2 separate regions of the Homo sapiens genome follow, and region 1 is linked to region 2. Evidence: promoter capture Hi-C in 16 types of primary human blood cells and fetal thymus (Javierre and others, 2016). All regions are on one chromosome and are shown on one strand. The core of a region is centred on a gene start or on the middle of the fragment in contact, and the rest is flanking DNA. Distances in the headings are between cores, read along the strand shown. Region 1 overlaps ARMC8 (armadillo repeat containing 8). Region 2 holds the start of MSL2 (MSL complex subunit 2).

Region 1 (4,449 bases), core at 469-2,968, 2.0 Mb after region 2:
TGAATCCAGTATTGGTTTTTTAATTTTAATTAAAGTTTAAAATATAAACAAAATTCACTTCCTAGCCACATTTCAAATTTCAATTGCCATATGAGGCTAGAGGCTGGCTTACTGGACAGTGCAGCTCTTTACCATCTGGCGCCTGTTCTCTGCCTCATCTCCTGCTGCTTTCTCCTTTGCTCATTCTGCTCCAGCTATAATGGCCTCCTATTCTTTGATTATGGCAGATACTTCTCATTTTAGGGCATTTGAATTTGCTGTTCTTTTTGCCTAAAAAAAGCTCTACCCCTAGGTAGGTGCACAGTCTGCTCCTTCACCTTCTTTAGGACTTCGCTCAAATGTCACCTTTTTAGACGTTCTTTCTCTTATCAACCCATTTAATATCTGTACAAATTGCCTTCTCTCCCTACCTCTTATATTTCTAGGCTGCCTTCTGAAAGAAGAGAGAAGAGGACTGGGAGGGGAGAGGTGACCTGATCTACAAGGAGCAGTGAAATATCAGAATTGTCCTATACAGATAAATGAATACATTAGACAAAAGCGTAGAGTAAGATAAGGTTGAATAAGTGATCATACCCCTTCAGCTTGCTTGCTGTCTGAGCAACTTATATGATTATTTTTGCGTATACATAACAATTTCAGATACTAAGCTTCTTAAATGCAAGGCTCTGCCTTAATGTCCTCTTATACCTTCTTTGGCATCTAGCATGTAACTTTGACCAAAAGGCAGTGTGAAATCTCCAATTGTGGTCCACCTATTGGTTAGCCTTTTGTGTTTTACATCCTGCGGTGCCTCTCTATCCTCTGTTCTTTTCAGTGCCAGCAACTAGTATACTTGCTGATTGTTTACTTGTATTGGCTTTGCATGCCCTGTGGCAATGATTGTGACATTGATTCTTTCTTTCCTTGTCCATCCTGGTACACTCTTACTCATTTTCCAAAGCCAATTCCTGAAAGAAGCCTTCCCTGATTCCCCTGGTTTACAAATGTCCTCCTCAGTGCCGCCTTTATGTTGTGTATACTATAATTCTTATATTCTAATAGGGAAATAATCATGTAAACATAGTAACAAGAGAATATGAATTCTTGAGAACAGGGACTGTGCCTTGCTTATCTTCTTTATTAAAGATAAATTTATTTTTAATGCTTTCCTCAGTGCATGTTATATTGAATGAACCAGGCACAGAGCAGCAAAAGAATTGCTATTAATGGGGGAAACTTATGTTAAGATACACATCATTGAGAGGTAAGAGATGTGGAGCTATAGACAGTAAAGATAGAACAGTAACATCAAAATCAATCTCTGGATAGGAGGGTCTGAGGTACTTAGAACTTACTATGTCAGAAAACCAGGAAAACATGTACTCAAATGGAGTGGCAAAACTTACCTGTTTGTATTATAGTAGTGCTTTTTTTCAGTTCTTCTGTAGCTTTTGGTTGTCATATATTGTTTCTTGATATGTTCGTACAGTTATTTGTGTCCTAACTGTACATTTGAAGATCTGACAAATGGGTAAAGATCATGAGAAGCCCCATTTGTAAACCGAGGGATTGAGCAGATTATTGTTGAGAGTCCTTCTAACTCTGTGATTCTGTTATTTTGAGGAAAACATGTGTTAGCAGGTGCTTTAATGGTACCCTGGTGGGCACAAGAATTTTCACCACTTTTGCCTCTTTGCTTCCACTGTTTGTTCTTTAAAAATGAAGTACATGCTAAAAGCAAGCATTTGAGCTGGATGTAGTGGCACATACCTGTAGTCAAGTTACTTGGGAGGCTGAGATGAGAGTATTCCTTGAGCCCAGGAGTTTGAGATCGGCCTGGGCAAGACGGCATCTCTGTTTTTTTTTTTTTGTTGTTGTTGTTGTTTTAAAGGAGGTATTTGAGTTGCCTTTGAGGATATTTTGGTAGCAAATTCAGAATACGAAAATATGTGTTGGCTGGGCACAGTGGCTCATGCCTGTAATCCCAGCACTTTGGGAGGCCAAGGCGGGCGGATCACGAGGTCAGGGGTTCAAGACCAGCCTGGCCAACATGGTGAAACCCCATCTCTACTAAAAATACAAAAATTAGCTGGATGTGGTGGTGCGCGCCTGTAATCCCAGCTACTCAGGAGGCTGAGGCAGGAGAATTGCTTGAACCCGAGAGGCGGAGGTTGCAAGTGAGCCAAGATCATGCTGCTGGACTCTAGCCTGGGCAACAGAGCGAGACTTCGTCTCAGGGGAGGGGGGAAGAAAATATATGTTGACTTAGTTAACTATATTATCAGAAAACTAGAGTTTGTGTAGTTCTCCAGAGTTATTTTTGGTGGCTCAAAAGTTTTAAGCTGGTACTGTGTCTTGGTAATTAACTTTTACTGATTTGGAGTTCTGAGTAAATTGGAAAAGTTATTTCTTCCTCCCTATAAGAACTTATTGCTAACGGCGGGGGAGTATATAAAGATATTTCAGCAGGCATCAGAAAAAACAAGCAGGGGACAAAACTTTTTCTCTGGTTCTTAAATATGGATTCTTTATTTTAAATAATATGAAGCATCAAAAATTAAATATTAAAAAAGAGTTACCCTCCAAAATAAGTATTACAAGAAATAACACAATAGAAAAACTTCACAATACAAATGAAAAGGAGGTAAGTGTCTTCCCTTTGTACTCTTTCTAATTCTACCCACCCTTATCCAGTTCAGTTGAGACAGCTTGGGTGGCCTACAGATCACTCTAATTCTTAATTGTTTTCCTTCACAGAAAGTGTGACAACTCCTTTATTTATTTTTACTTCTGCCTCCAGCAATGAAGCTTCTCTACATTAGTCTAAGGATTTCCTCTTGTACCTAGACTACCCCTTACAGACTGTTTCATGGAGTCCTCACTCTTCCCTGGCTGAGAGCCAGATTTTGTCCTTTTGTGTATACTAATTTATAGAAGTAATATTCCTATCTATTAATTATACGTACATGACACCCAGCAGTTAGTGAAGAAACTTAGCTTGCTGCTAAGTGTATATGCTAACATATTTGCCTAGGTCTTCTGTTGGCAAAACTTCTAGGGCTCGCCACAAAGGTCCCACTGTCTAGCTATGTGTTTAGTGAGAACTAGGAGTCTTCTTTCTTTTCTGTCTTACTGTTTATCTTTGTCATGAGCTTTTTTTCAGACTAATGTAATAAAGTATTTACAAAAATATACTTAATATCTTCCTGATGATTCTTCTGAATGAACAAAGTGATGTGCTTTGTAATTACGTTGATTTTCCAAACTCTCCTGCTAGTTTTAAGACATAGTAAAATGTATACCATGGACATTCTTACTTTTGAAATTGGGCATTCTTAGAAGAAAAATATTGATCTTTGACATCTTGAACTGAACACTACAGTTTCCCATTATTTTGATACCTGAGAGAGAAAAGTCACCTGCTTAAGTATCCCATATCATGAGGAGGCAAAACTAAGTATTTCATATAAATTTTAATGCATCTACCTTAAGTTAAATTATCTAGTCACTTGATATTGTGGGTGATGCTGTGAATTTGTGATTTGCATGGCTTCAGATGTCATAATTTTTCCCCCCACTTTCTAGGAAGTAACAGCTAGCAGTCGCCACTATGTTGACAGGCTATTTGACCCTGATCCCCAGAAAGTTCTACAAGGTGTCATGTAAGTAGTATGTATTTAAGAGTCTATCAAAAAGTTGTTTGTTTTCATGTTTTAATCTGCCACATATTTTAATTTTGAAAATACAGGGTTATACCTTTTTTCTTTCATTTGGCTTCTTTCTAGAAAGACTGCTTGACATTCATGACGTTTAATATTTTACCATAAAGAATTGTCTTTTGAATAGTTGTTAACTGACATGGTTAGCTTCATTTTTTGTAGAATACTTGTTTCACATTAAAAAAATGTTTTCTTTGGAGAATGCTTTTGCTTCTTTAATATCCACAAAAGCAGGAGAATAAGATTGATGGTCTTTCATAATTGGAATGCAGTGAAAGAATAGACCAGTAGGGTTTTTTGTTTTGCTTTGTTTTGTTTTTGGTTAACTCATTAACTGTCACCAAGATTGAGTCTCCTGTTGATGTTTTAAATTTCGAATTTAGAAAGCTGTCAGAAAATTTAAACTCTTAATAACCATAATGCCTTTTTTTCTCCAAAATTTCATGTTTAATGAGAGGAAACATTTTTAAGCAACATACCAGAGGTAATTATGCTCTTAAAAAATTAAGAGAAGCAAGTAGGATAAGATTTCAGATTTATTCCCTTTCCTTTGAGTTTCAGATTATCATACTCTTAGCGCATTAGTTCTAAGGAGGAAGGTCTAGACTAAGGCTTATCATGGGGTTGGGAAATGTGAAGGATCCACAGGCCTGAACTGTGTCTATGGGAAGAAAGACACAAAAAAGGGTCAAGATACATTTGGGTAATGATGAGGGCGCCCATGAGGGAGGCCTCTTTCTTTTTCTCT
Region 2 (4,456 bases), core at 1,572-4,071:
TATATGGAGAAGGAAGTTATGGCAGCTCCATTTCCTCAGTCCTCAAACCATCAAAATATGTGAGGACATTAAAAAAAAAAAGCACTCCATAAAAGTGGGAGTAGAGTGAGAGGTTACCATGAAACCAGGCAAACTCTTGATACACTTACATTTGTAAAACTTAAGCTGAAAGGAAACTGAATCTAGCCGAAAATTATCATTTTACACATCAAGAAACTGAGGCCCAGGGCAGTTAGGTGATTTGCCCTGGGCGACTATTCCTCTAAGGTGTTAAGTGTCTGTCACCAGTCAGAGTAGCACTTAATGACTTACTCAGTTACTTAAATGTTTATGACCTTAAGTACCTGTCTTGCAAAAAACACCACCGCCACCTCTTCTGCACCCATTCAGTGTCTTGCTTCAGGATCTAGATAGAGAATGCTGGATAAACCTCAAATGAATATTATTTCTCCCTTCAGCCACAACTGTCCCAAATTACTCTTCTTCCTTTATCTACTTTTAAATAAAGTGGAAACCTTAACGTGCCTGAATTTCCCAGGTTCTGACTAAACAAGTGGATCATCAAAACTTCAAAATTTAGGATAGAATATTAAGTGGAGCATGCATATTACTGCTTTGGCAGTTGCCCTTTCTTTTGTATTAACGTTTCAGTCCAGGTTTTTCGAAAAGCAAGTAATTATTACACACGCACAGTTAACATTCAAATTATCACTTTTGAGATATTTTCCTTAGACAATTTAGCATATCTCTTCTATCTTAAAAATTAAAGTATCCTACCCACCACGAGTTAATTTTTTTTAACAAAAACATCTAAAATAACCCTCGACAAAGCCAAAGTATATTAAACCACAAAATGAAAAAGTGGTAAGTAAAAGTCTCACCAGCTAAAAAGCACTTCGAGTACCAACAGCCTTCCCCGGCTCGCTGTTAACCGTCAAACCGTCAAAGCATTTGTGGAGGAACCTGGGGCAAAGTTCCGCGCCGGGTTCTCCAGCTGTGGGTTCATCAGCTTAGCCCACCACTCCCACGTAACACCAGTTTGGGGAAATGCAAACACGCCACATGTGCCCACATGTGCATGTTTTGATCATGTTTAACCACTTTTAACCGCCGTAGGTACGTAATCAGCTCCCGCGGCAAAGGTTTAAGAAAAAAAAAAAAAAAGCCTTGTGCATGCATCTTACCCCCACTTAAACCACCACCACCAGATGAACCGAGGCGAATTAAACCATTTTGAACGTTAACGCCGCTGCACAAAGCGGTATGAAAGGGTTCTCTGCCTTTCTGAAACGCCGGGCAAAAGTCCCTCAGCAAGTTTCAAAACTAATGACCGTACAGCGCTGCACAAATAACAAAAGCTTAATACCAACCACCAGGCCGTCAACCCGCTCACGTTACCACTGCCCAGAAGGCTTTTAAAAACAAGCATTGAAAAGGGAACAATAAAAAGCGTCTCACCGCAAACACAGCACGAAAGGGACTGTCGGAAGTAAGGCAAGAGCCTGTTAATCTCAGTAAACGCCTTGGGGTCTCCGGGGTCGTAGTTGAGCACTAGGCGGCTCGCGGAAATGTAGAGAGCAGTAGCATTCACGGGGTTCATTGCAGACACTTCGACACCAATGGCTCCCGGTTGAAAAGAAATTCCGGATCCAACTTAGTAAGCAGCCAGGGAACGATGGCGAATTTGCAACAATTCGGAAGAAATCAGAGCCGAACCATTGGCCAAACAAGTAACCAAAATCCGTGCAAGTTTGTGGAGCTGAAACAATCCTCCCACACATGGGGCCTTGGCGCCCCTCCGTCCCTGAGACTTCCAGACCAAAAATATGAGAGAGAAACCAGCGTTCGAGTTCGTCCGGAGCGACCACAGAGCGCAGAACGCGGCGGCTTGGGCGCTCGGGGCGGGACTCGGAGCTCAGTCTAGCCCCGCGGCTCGGCAGGCGGCCTGCACTCGAGCTCCATCTCCGGACACGGAGGCGCCTCCTCAAGTCGAGCTGGCAGGCGCGGGAGCAGGCCCCGGCCCCGTCTGAGGCGCGGCACGCTTCTCCCGGGCTGCAGGGCCTCTTACTCCATCCCAGTACAGGGCGCGGAGGCGGCGGCGACGGCAAGGACGACGGTCGGGCAGCGGCTTCCCGGATCTAGTGCAAGACGCCGCGGCGGCGACGAAGGTTGATGTTGCGGCTGGCGGACGCCGCCGCCGCGCTCTCCATATCGGACGCGGGGCCCAGACTGCGCCCTGGCTCTCCGCCCCGTGGGTTGCAGCCCGCAGTTCCCCGAGGTGGCGAGGCGGGCGGGAGTCCTCAACCCGGAGGGGAAGGCCGGGGAGGAAGTGCGCGGGCCGCCGCCGGCGGGCGGGAGGGGGCGGGGGGCAAGCCCGGCCGGGCCGCGGCGGCGCCCCTCGCGCCTCAGTCGCACACTCCGGGGTCACCAGACTCAAGCGCCGCCCCCTCACTGCCCGGCCATTTTTTCGGCGCCACACACACAGACGACTCCTCCGCCGAGCACGACGGCCGCCGCCGCCCTCAGCACTCCCCGGCCGCGGAAGGCAAGCGCTCACACCGCCAGGCCCCGCCGCCGCCCAGCGCACACAGCAAGGCCCCGCCGCAGGCCCCTCCCCCGTGCCTCGCCGCCCTCACCCCGACTCCACGCGCCACTCCAGCTCGGTAGGGCCCGGGCTGCTGCGGCCTTAATGGATCCCGCGGGCTGTGTGGCGCCTCAGGCCTCTGCTGGCGGCGACGACGACCGTTACCCCAACGGGCAAAGCCACTGTCATCCCCGAGACTCCCCCGCCGCCGTCGTCGCTAGCGCTCGCACGCATGCGCAGAGCACACTCTCACCCCTCCCCCCTTTCCTCTCCCTTCGCTTCCCTTTTCCCTTGCTTCTCCTCTAACAACCCCCTCCACAGCCTCCCAGAGCTACCGGCTCACTCCACGCATGCGCAAGCTGCTACCTAGCTCCGCCGCCTTTCGCCCTTCCGCGTGCGCTTTGACCGCCCACCCAGAAAACCGGATAAACACATCAGCCTGCTCGCGCCAGTCCCTCACCGCTGCCAACCCACCCTGGGCTCACTGCGCATGCCTGGCTCTCCACTTCGACTCTCAGAATGGAGCATGCTCTCTGCGAGCCGACAGCTCTCTTCGCCCCTCCCCCACGTGCTCTCAAATTCCCTCTCCCAGGCATGTGGGCTGTGGTGAAACATTCGTTAGCTGGCACATCCTTCCCCAGTGTGGGCTGCAGGCTTCCCGCATTACACTGCTTCTGTGCCCGCCAACGCCGGGGCCCGACTTGGTAGCGCCATGTGGCGCTCTGCACTGGCCTGAACGCGGCCTCTCGTCCTGACTGACCGCGGTGTGAGGAAATAGCCGCGCCAGGCCCCAAGCCCCGCCCTCGCGGCCTTTCTCCTGGAACCGCTCATCCCGACCGCGGAAAGGGCGCAGCCTCGGCTGGCTGGCAGGCTCTCGCCGAGCCGGGAAGGCTGCAGTAGTCAACGTGGCTGCGCGCCCAGCAGGCGTGCGGACGGCTTTTGCCGGGTCGGGGCCGCGTTCCGCACCTCTCTGCGGTGGTTCGCAGTCAGAGGGCTCTAAGGCCCTGGCAGGCTGTATGTAAGCGTGGAGGCTCGAACCCACTGCCCCCTCCTACCCGTCGGACCCGCGCTGTTCCCACGGCCTCTGGCCCTTGGACTCGTGCGGCCTCACCTTCATGGGTGCCGATCAGGACTTCACCGAGCTCTCACCGGAACAGAGTCCTGTTTTAAAAACAAAACGAACTCCTTTTTTTTTTTTTTGAAAGACCTAGCTTTTTTAAAAGACCTAGCTCTTCTGTGTGAACAGATGTCTTGAAGAATGCGTGATCTTGCTCTAGAACAAACCCAAATCCTTGCAAATGTTTTGTTTTTTAAAACAAGCTTTTGCCTTTTGTTTTTGCAGGAGATCAAGGGCACTGGGATATAAATAAACAAAAGCCTGACTTAGTAGATGACTTCCCTCCCATCTCAAAGTACAAAACCTTTTTTTGAGTAGCACAAATAGTAACAGGCCATAGGAAGCATTTCTTATCTCTGTACACACCAAAGCTCCTCAGCATAATTTTTCATGCACAGTAGGTACTCTATACGTTTGCAAAGTGAAAATTATGATGCGTGTAAATCTATTGTGGCACATGTTACATATGTACACAGGCACGTATATGGAACATGTAAATGTGGTACGTGTTAGTTACAAGCTGCCACTTGAGGTGAGTAGGAATAGTTAAGATATCAAGGGAACACATATAATCTCGATTTATAATTTCTATTACCATTTGAAGACAGGTTTTTTTTTCACAAGACCTACCATATTATCAACACTTAAATATTAAGCAGTAAGAATATAACTTCCTAATTTTGATTAGCTGTGCAAACTGTATTTGGTTGTCTTATACGTGGAAAATGACAAATATTCTAAAAGCCACTCTCATT

The links. Contacts are between HindIII fragments. The CHiCAGO score rates a contact against its expected background, and 5 or more counts as called.
Region 1: a fragment that was not itself captured here is called in contact with the fragment with the promoter of MSL2 in region 2 in 1 of 17 cell types (erythroblasts); the score reaches 6.1 in erythroblasts.

Annotation. Positions count from the first base shown.
Region 1 is chr3:138,206,250-138,210,698 of GRCh38, forward strand. ARMC8 (armadillo repeat containing 8) reads left to right here. Exons shown (of 22, transcript NM_001363941.2): 2 at 3,568-3,644. Among named protein-coding and RNA genes, the nearest start is that of ARMC8, 21 kb to the left of the region's middle. The HindIII fragment of the contact is 2,140 bases long and covers 649-2,788 here.
Region 2 is chr3:136,193,514-136,197,969 of GRCh38, forward strand. It overlaps MSL2 (MSL complex subunit 2), which reads right to left and starts at 2,822. Exons shown (of 2, transcript NM_018133.4): 1 at 1,459-2,822. The coding sequence starts at 1,600. RefSeq lists enhancers at 1,610-1,679, 1,730-1,779, 1,779-2,525, 1,830-1,899, 2,526-3,272 and 2 more and a silencer at 2,240-2,629. The HindIII fragment of the contact is 2,546 bases long and covers 1,357-3,902 here.